Regions from separate parts of the Homo sapiens genome. Here region 2 is linked to region 1. The links are contacts of gene promoters, found by promoter capture Hi-C in human tissues and cell types (Jung and others, 2019). All regions are on one chromosome and are shown on one strand. Each heading gives the region's core, a stretch centred on a gene start or on the middle of the fragment in contact. The rest is flanking DNA. Distances are from core to core; before and after follow the strand shown.

The links. The method cuts DNA at HindIII sites, captures the fragments that hold promoters and counts their contacts. A contact is called where the count stands out against the background at its distance.
Region 2: a contact is called between a fragment that was not itself captured here and the fragment with the promoter of CEP89 in region 1, in 1 of the 25 tissues and cell types used here (thymus).

What each region holds. Positions count from the first base shown.
Region 1 is chr19:32,969,210-32,973,815 of GRCh38, forward strand. CEP89 (centrosomal protein 89) reads right to left here and starts at 2,749. Exons shown (of 19, transcript NM_032816.5): 1 at 2,627-2,749. The coding sequence starts at 2,665. FAAP24 (FA core complex associated protein 24) reads left to right here and starts at 3,033. Exons shown (of 5, transcript NM_152266.5): 1 at 3,033-3,137; 2 at 3,975-4,093; 3 at 4,217-4,353. The coding sequence starts at 3,988. RefSeq lists enhancers at 2,557-2,776, 3,157-3,206 and a silencer at 2,887-3,016. The HindIII fragment of the contact is 5,065 bases long and covers 1,088-4,606 here.
Region 2 is chr19:32,936,181-32,940,786 of GRCh38, forward strand. CEP89 (centrosomal protein 89) reads right to left here. Exons shown (of 19, transcript NM_032816.5): 6 at 3,677-3,705; 7 at 1,451-1,493. Among named protein-coding and RNA genes, the nearest start is that of CEP89, 33 kb to the right of the region's middle. RefSeq lists an enhancer at 1-440. The HindIII fragment of the contact is 4,977 bases long and covers 63-4,606 here.

The DNA.
Region 1 (4,606 bases), core at 1,499-3,998:
TCTCTGCAGCTGGTCATCCTGTCCCCTCGTCTCTACCATCTTCATCCTCTGGCTATTCTCTGCGCTGCTCTGGCTGAGCCCAGGGTTTTTATGGACCTCAGCGGGGAAGAAGTGTGTGCTGATTGGGCCATTGGCAGGCCCAGAAAAGGCTCCACGAGTTTCCACTCTGGTCAGAGGGACTGGCAGCCCAGCCCCCAGAATTCAGGCCCTCCCTGGCCTGAGGGTGGGGCCTTACTGGGGACCCCACCCCCTTCCTCCTGCTGCCATTCATGGCTGCAGGTCTTGGCTCCGACTCCCCTCCAAGATCAGAGCAGTTGCTGGAGTGGAGAGAGGCCAGGCAGTGGAAGCAGACACCCCTGAGCCTGCAGGGATGGAGGGTGAAGGGGGCTGTCCTTCCTGGGATGGCCGATGGTGCAGGCTACAGAGATGCCCTCGTCCTGTGCCTGGGGGGGCAGCCACAGCTGCACCTGGGAGCTCCCACCCCGCCAACTTGGAAGAGGCAGGGCTCCCACTTGTCCCTGGCTCCTGCCTGCGCGGCTGCAGCTGCATCTGGAAGGGCAAATTCTGCCTGTTCCCGGCTCCCCCAGGAGCAGAGAGGCTCGGATCCACAGCTGCAGTTTGGGTGGCTGTAGCCCTGCCCAAGAGGGTGGGGCTCCTGCCTGCTCCATAGAGCAGAAGGCCTGGGTCTGCAGCAGCGGTTTGCGGCTCCAGTCCCAACTCATGAGGGACGGGGCTTCCACCGGCTCCATGAAGTGTGCAGCCCTAGCCACACAGCGTGATGGCAGCAGCCACTGCCATCACAAGGACCCAAATTCATTTCTTGCTTCCCCTCCTCTTCCTGCGCAGAGTCCCTGTGCTTCAGCACTCAGCGTGGGCTTCCATTTCCCAAACAGCAAATAATTCATTCTTTTTTAGGCCTTGGTATTTGCTGTCTTCTGCACCCAGAATTCTTTCCTTACTCCCTGCCAGGCCCAGGCCAACTCTCCAGGCTGACGTCACTGCCCTTCTGGTACACACATCAACAGCAGTTCTTGTTTTACCATTGTGTACAGAATTATTTATGGGCTTGTCTATCCTACAGACCGTGTGGCCATAAGCTGTCAGTTGTGGGTATCAGCACACAGCAGGGACTCATTAATGTTTGGGGCTTTAAATAAAAACTCAAGCCAGATGCAGTGGCTCACACCTGTAATCCCAACACTCTGGAGGCCAAGGTGAGAGGATTGCTTGAGCCAAGGTTTAAGACCAGCCTGGGCAGCATACCCAGACCCCATCTCTACCAAAAAAAAAAAATTATGTTTTTTTGAGGCAGAGTCTAGCTTTGTCGCCCAGGCTGGAGTGCAGTGGCACAATCTTGGCTCACTGCAACCTCTGCCTCTCGGGTTTAAGCGATTATCCCACCTCAACCTCCCGTGTAGCTGGGATTACAGGTGCCCACCACCACGCCCGCTAATTTTTGTATTTTTAGTAGAGATGGGTTTTCACCATGTTGGCCAGGCTAATCTTGAACTCCTGACCTCAAATGATCCGCCTGCCTCAGCCTCCCAAAGTGCTGGATTACAGGTGAGAGCCACCTCACGTGGCCTCTACAAAATAATTTTTAAAATTAGCCAGGCATTGAGACTTGGCAGAGTGTGAGGCAAAAAATAAAATAAATAAAAAATACCTAGGTGTGGTGGTGCACACCTGTAGTCCCAGCTACTCAGGAGCCTGAGGCAGGAGGATCACTTGAACCCAAGAGGTTGAAGCCACAGTGAGCTATGATCATGCCACTGTACTCCAGCCTGGGCATCAGGACAAGACCCTGTCTCTAAAACTAAATTAAATAATAAATAAATATAAGAATCCCCTTGGCTGCTACGTGGAGAATGGACCTAGGGGAAGGGCGAGAGTGGAAGCAGAGAAACCAGTGAGGATCTGCCGCAGCAGTCCAGACAGATGCTGGAGGCCGGGGTGTGGGTGGAGATGGGAACAGCTGGCAGATGTATGTAGTGGGTATATCGGATGGGACTTGCTGATGGGGTGTACATGGTGGGTGGAGGAGGGAAAAATGAAGAATGGCTATATCCAGCAGTGCAGCAGGTGTACGTCGTCCAGGAGTTAACTCCGGGCACGGGGACGAATGCTACAGGGGAGGCAGGGTGCTCCTGTCCAACTGTGGCCGACCCTGGGGCAGAAGATTGTTAACGCCGGGCACAGTGGCTCACGCCTGTGATACCAACACTTTAGGAGGCTAAGGAGCTCAAGACCACCATAGGAACATAGCAAGATCCCTGTTTCCACAAAAATATTGAACAATTAGCCGGGAGTAGTGGCGCGCGCCTGTAGTCTCAGCTCCTCGGGAGGCTGGGGTGGGAAGATCGCTTGAGCCCAGGAGTTCGAGGATGCAGTGAGCTATGATCGCACCACTGCACTCTAGCCTGGGCGACAGAGCGAGACCCTGTTTCTTAAAAAAAAAAAAAAAAGTTTAGAACACGAAAAATCAAGGCTTCCTCAACTGAAAACCACTTTCTCTTGTGCCGCCCCCTTGACTGGATCTCAGGCCAAACCCCAACCCGCCCCAACACTTTACCCCTAATTCCCGGCCCCACAGAGCCCCACGCGCGGCGGGCGAGCATCTACTTACGAAATGACTCCTGCGGCCTCTCCGAAATCCCAGGAGCATCCTTGCAGCGCGAGGAGAATGGACCGGGGCCTGGACTCATCAGCAGATCTATCCACAGCCAGGGACCACTCCCTAAAGCCCGCCGCAGGCCCAGCCCTCACGCTTTCTCTTCGCAATGGACTTTGCAGCAACCACGTCGGCCATTGGCTCAGCTCGGCCCTCGACCAATCAGAGCTAAGGTTACTTCCACACCGGTCGTTCTTGGCAACCAGTGGGTACCGTTCAAATCCCCGCCAGGGCGGAAACGTCCGCCCTTATCCGTTCTCTTATTGGTCAGGTTAGACGTCCATTTCTGACGCCACAGCCTATCCGGCGCTGCGGGAGGCGGAGGGCGGGCTGGATGAAGGACTGGGCGAGCACCGAGGGCGTGAACCCGGAAGGTGGCGCGGCCACCAGTAACATGATCTCTAGACTGGGACGGTGGGGTTCCTGCCGGCTGTATTCGGGCCTTGGACTGGACTGAGAAGCTACGGTGCGGATCCAGCTGGGGTATCAGGGGCTAGGCACGTGATGAAAATGAAGGACGCGGACACCAGGACAGGAATCTCCTGGTTCTTAGAGAATTTATTTCGCCACAAATAATTGGCAAACGGGATCTCGCTGTATTGCTCAGGCTGGTCTCGAACTCCTGGGCACAAGCGATCCTCACGCCTCAGCCTTGCCCAATGTTGGGATTACAGACGTGAGCTACCATGCCCAGCCCAGGATTCTTTTAAAACTTAAATCTGATCGTGCCTCTGGCCTTATTGGAATCCAATGCCATTACCACCTCCACCACCACACATCCCGTCTCCAGCCACCCTGGCCTTCATTCAGGCCTTTGTGTTTTCTTTTTCTTTTCTTTTTTTTTTTTTTTTTTGAGACGAGTCTTGCTCTGTCGCCCAGGCTGGAGTGCAGTGGCGCGATCTCGGCTCACTGCAACCTCCGCCTTCCGGATTCAAGCAATTCTCTGCCTCAGCCTCCCAAGTGGCTGGGATTACAGGTGCCCACCACCAAGCCCGGCTAATTTTTTTGTATTTTTAGTAGAGACGCGGTTTCACTATCTTGGCCAGGCTGGTCTTGAACTCCTGACCTTGTGATCCACCCGCCTCGCTCGGCCTCCCAAAGTGCTGGGATTACAGGTGTGAGCCACCGCGCCCAGCCTGTGTTTTCTTATTAGTAATTATAAAGGGAATCTTATTTGACAGTTCTTTGACAAATAATTCAGTTTGCAGAGGGGATCCTGCCCCAGAGGCCCTGGCTTGGAGTGGAATGCAGGGCCGTGTGCAGGAGAGCCTGCTCAAGTGCCGCCTGGCTTTTCCCTCCTTAGGTGGAGACCATCCATGGAAAAGAACCCCCCTGATGATACGGGCCCCGTGCACGTGCCTTTGGGGCATATTGTGGCCAATGAGAAATGGCGCGGGTCACAGCTGGCGCAGGAGATGCAAGGTCGGTGGCCTGCCCTCTGCCAGCCCTTTCCTCCCCTGACATATTAAAAAAAAAAAATCTGCCTATTATTGCCATCTTTTCATCCAAAGCTTATGGAACTCATTTTCTTCTCTGTATTTTAAGGGAAAATTAAGCTCATTTTCGAGGATGGCTTGACACCAGACTTTTATCTGTCGAACAGATGCTGCATTCTTTATGTCACCGAAGCTGATTTGGTGGCAGGAAATGGCTACAGAAAGAGGCTTGTTCGGGTTAGAAATGTAAGTATTAGGCTGGGTGCTGTGGCTCACGCCAGTAATCCCAGCACTTTGGGAGGCCAAGGCGGGTGGATCACCTGAGGTCAGTAGTTGGAGACCAGCCTGGCCAACATGGTGAAACCCTGTCTCTGCTAAAAATACAAAAATTAGCTGAGTATGGTGGCGCACGCCTGTAATCCCAGCTACTAGGGAGGCTGAGACGGGAGAATTGCTTGAGCCTGGGAGGCAGAGGCTGTAGTGAGCCGAGATCACGCCA
Region 2 (4,606 bases), core at 1,301-3,800, 33 kb before region 1:
CAGCAGGGTTGGAGCGGGGTTTAGGCCAAGCCTGGGCACTGTCACAGCCTGGCTGGGAGTGTGCATACTCAGGGCAGTACTGACACGACAGCGCCCTGCCGCCTCAGCCCCCTCCAGACTTTGGGCACCCATGAGCACAGGAGGGAAAGACAAGGGGGTGCTGAGGATGGCTCTGCACTGGCCTGCAGTTGCCCCTTGGTGTGAGCAGCCTGGGTGCCATGGACTGGGCAGCAGGAGGGAGACAGGTTCCTGGGCAGAAGCAGGCAGGTCCCCGGTGAGGCCCCGCCTTCAGGTCGGAGAGGGCCTGAAGGCTGGGGACCGGGTTGCCTGTCCCGTGGGACTGCAGTAGGAACTTATGGTGCCTTTTCCAGGCCCACCCATGGCCACCCATGGACCAATCGGTGCGCACTTCCTCCCTTCTGAGGCCCATAAAAGCCCTGGGCTTAGTTGGAGCAGAGCAGATGAGATGACCAGCTGCAGAGAGGAGTTCCCCTCTCTGCTGATAGCTGGAGATGTCAGAGGACCAGCAGCAGAGAGGAGCAACCCACTCCAGGGCCTCCTCTCTACTAGGAGCTGGTCAGAATAACCAGCTGCAGAGAAGAACAACCCTCTCCAGGGCTTCCTCTTTGCTGAGAGCTGCAGAGACAGTTGGGTGACCTGCCTTCAGAGAGGAGCCATCGACTCCAGGGGACCTCCTCTCTGCTGAGAGCTGAACACTTAACGGGACGACCTGCCTACAGAGAGGAGCTACCCACTGTGGGTCTCCTCTGAACTGTTCTAACATGCAGTAAAGCTCCTCTTCGTCTTGCTCACCCTCCACTTGTCTGCTTACCTCATTCTTCCTGGACGCAGGACAAGAACTCAGGCAAAGGCACACTGGCACCACAGACATTTCCGACCAGAAAAGCGACACCCCAAAGATCTTGTAACAATGTGGGACCTAACAGCAAAAATTATAACCTCCATTTTGGAAGCCACTGAAGCTCCCCAAACTGTTCAGGGGGCATAACCCATAAAGCATCTCTAGACCTCTCCCTCTGCCTTCAGCCTCAGAGCAGAGCCCATAACTGCACCTGCCTTCCCAGTACGGATCCCAGTACATCATGGGTCCACTCCTCCCACTGGGATCCCAGCACATCCCACAGGTCCTCCTTCCACCCCCAGGATCCCATTACATCCCACAGGTCCACCTCCCTTCCCCCAGGATCCCAGCATATCCCACAGGTCCACGTCCCCCCAGGTCCAACCCCCACCCTCCCAGGACCCAAGCACATCCTGTATGGACATACGTCCACTACCTAGTGTTTGGACCCTCTCTTTTGAGGCAAGGGTGAAAGTTCAACAACTAATACAAGAAAAAGAAAATGTAATCTTTATTTTCAGATAAAATTAATCTGGATATTCTCCAAAACAAGCTTTTCAATCATAATATAATTCAAAAGGCAAATACCTGGGGAGGGTGGAGGTTTCTCACATAATGGAGGTTTTTCATCCTAGGAAAGAAAGAACATAAGAGGAATAAGTGCAGAGCATTAGTGTTTTATAAAGTGGACACACGCAGCTAGGTCATTAGACAGCAGGTATATAAGCATGCTTTATTTCCTTCATTTTGACTCTTGTTCTTTGTTTGTTTTAGCTTTCAAAACTTTAATATGTACTATTTCTTTTTTTCCTTTTTTAAGACAGGGTCTTACTCTGTCACCCAGGCTAGGGTGCAGTGGTGTGATCGCAGCTCACTGCAGCCTCCAACTCCTGGGCTCATGAAATCCTCCTACCTCAGCCTCCCAAGTAGCTGGGATTACACATGGGCCATCACACCTAATTTTTTTTTTTTTTTTTTTGTAGAGATGGGGTCTCCTGTTGTCCAGGCTAGCCTTGAGCTCCTGGGCTCAAGGGATCCTCCTACCTTGGTCTCCCAACATGCTGGGATTACACTGTTTCTTATACCTGAATCTGAGACCTTAAGTGTCTTCCCCTCTGGTGGGCTCTCTGAGGCTATAAAGGAAGTCCTGCCTGAGCTTTCTTCCTGCCTTTCTGCACTGAGTTCAGTGACTGTCCTTACAGGTAGATCCCGTGAGTAGCGGGCTGTGGGCTCACGTTGAAAAGCATGTGCTAGGTAGGGCTGCAAGTGCTGAGCAGAGATGCCCTCAGCAAACTCCAGCCAGGCCTCTTCTCACTGGGATGGGCAAAAAGGACCCCATCAACTGCAGGGAAGCACATTTGCAAAATGCTGAGAAAGGAACAGTAAGATATTGCTTCTCAACCCCAAACCTAGAGGAAAGGGAAGGCTGTGAACTTTTGTTAATTTTTCCTTACATGGTGGTGTGATATTAAGTTTCTAATTTCTGCTGACAAAGTAGACAAGGTTATAAATTAACTCTGCAGAGAAATGTTTAATTTTTAAGTTCCTATGACATCGCACAATGAAAAACTTAAGTTAGAACTATTTCCATGTTTGCAAATTAGTTATTAAAATTCTCAGGCCAGGCCAGGTGTGGTGGCTCACACCCGTAATCCCAGCACTTTAGGAGCCCGAGGCAGGTGGGATCGCCTGAGGTCAGGAGTCTGAGACCAGACTGGCCAACATGGTGAAATCTCATCTCCATTAAAAATACAAAAATTAGCTGGGCATGGTGGCATGCACCTGTGGTCCTAGCTACTCGGGAGGATGAGGCAGGAGAATCACTTGAATCCAGGAGGCGGAGGTTGCAGTGAGCCGAGACTGCGCCACTGCACTCCAGTCTGGGTGACAGAGCAAGACTCCATCTCAGAAAAATATCTCAGGCTAGGCACGTCACATCATGCCTGCAATCCCAATGCCCTTGGGAGGCCAAGGCAGGAGGATCGCTTGAGCCCAGGAGCTTGAGACCATCCTGGGCAACATAACAAGACCCCATCTCTAAAAAAAAATTTTTTTTTAATTAGCCAGGAGTGGTGGCATGTGCCTGTAGTCCCAGCTACTCAGGAGACTGAGGCAAAAGAATCACTTGATCCCAGGAGATTGAGGCTACAGTGAGCTATGATCACACCACTGCACTCCAGCCCGGGTCACAGAGGGAGATCCTGTCTCAAAAAATAATTTTAACAAAAGATAAAATTGTCTATTCATTCCACATTCATTTTAATTATAAAGTAGTTTCTAACCCTTTAATACATTACTTTCATCATTAAACTATGGAAAATATCAATTTCCTCATGTTTTAAAAGTATTTAAGGCCAGGCACAGTGGCTCATGCCTGTAATCCCAGCATTTTGGGAGGTCGAGATGGGCAGATCACTTGAGCTCAGGAGTTTGAGACCAGCCTGGGTAATATGGTGAAACCCCATCTTTATCAAAAATACAACAAATTAGCTGGGTGTGGTGGCATGCATCTGCGATCCCAGCTACTCGGGAGGCTGAGGTGGGAGGATCGCTTGAGCCTGGAAGACGGAGACCGCAGTGAGCTGAGATTGCGCCACTGCACTCCAGTCTGGGTGACAGTGAGACCCCCTTCTCAAAAAAAAAAAAAAGCATTTAAAAGAAATATTCAACAGGAAAGAACTCTTAAGGGAAGATTTATTTTTGCCCCAAAATCACCGCCAAAGTTTCAACACCAAAGTTGTTGAAAATTTATGAAAAATTATGATAAAAACTCTATTTATTGAGAAAATCAGTTTTTAAAAAAAATGATCTTACCTTTAAATTCAGAACAGGGTGTTTACCATCTGATGAAGAAAAAGAGAGAGAGATAAACTTTTAAAGTAGATAATGAAATATGACAACTCAGAAAGTACAATCATAGAAATTCACCTTCTACAGAGGAGCTCGACAAGGCCCAGAACAGGGATAAAATTCACAGGGTCACAGGGCAAGTGGGTCCCAGAGCCAGGCTGGGGCCTGACTCTAAATTGTCATCTCTCTCCCATACCCATGCCTGACCACCATCCGTGGCTCACGTGGCTGCAGAACCAAAGCCAAACTCTTCAGTGTCTCCAAGCCCTTCCCATGCCAGGCTTCTCCTCTCCTTCCAACACCCCTCCCCATCACTCTCCACACATCTTCCCATGCCGGGCTCCTCCTCTCCTTCCAACACTCCTCCCCATCACGCTCTATACATCTTCCCATGCCGGGCTCCTCCTCTCCTTCCAACACCCCTCCCCATCACTCTCCACACATCTTCCCATGCCGGGCTCCTCCTCTCCTTCCAACACTCCTCCCCATCACGCTCTACACATCTTCCCATGCCGGGCTCCTCCTCTCCTTCCAACACTCCTCCCCATCACGCTCCACACATCTTCCCATGCCGGGCTCCTCCTCTCCTTCCAATACTCCTCCCCATCACGCTCCACACATCTTGCCCACCACTCCCTGGATGGGCCAACGCATACTCCTATTGGCCTACCCTCCCTAGATGCATCATCCAACCTGGTCAGAAAAATAGTTGTTCCTTGAAGCAAACTGTCTCAACGACAGAGAGGAAAACAAATCTCACCCACTTACTCATCTTCCACACATCTGTAATCCAGGTACCCTAGGAAGCAGGTGATCTTACACCCCAGTTTGCCTGTACACATTCATGTTGTAAAAAGTTGGACATCGAGTTGCTTTTTTTTTTTTTTGAGACGG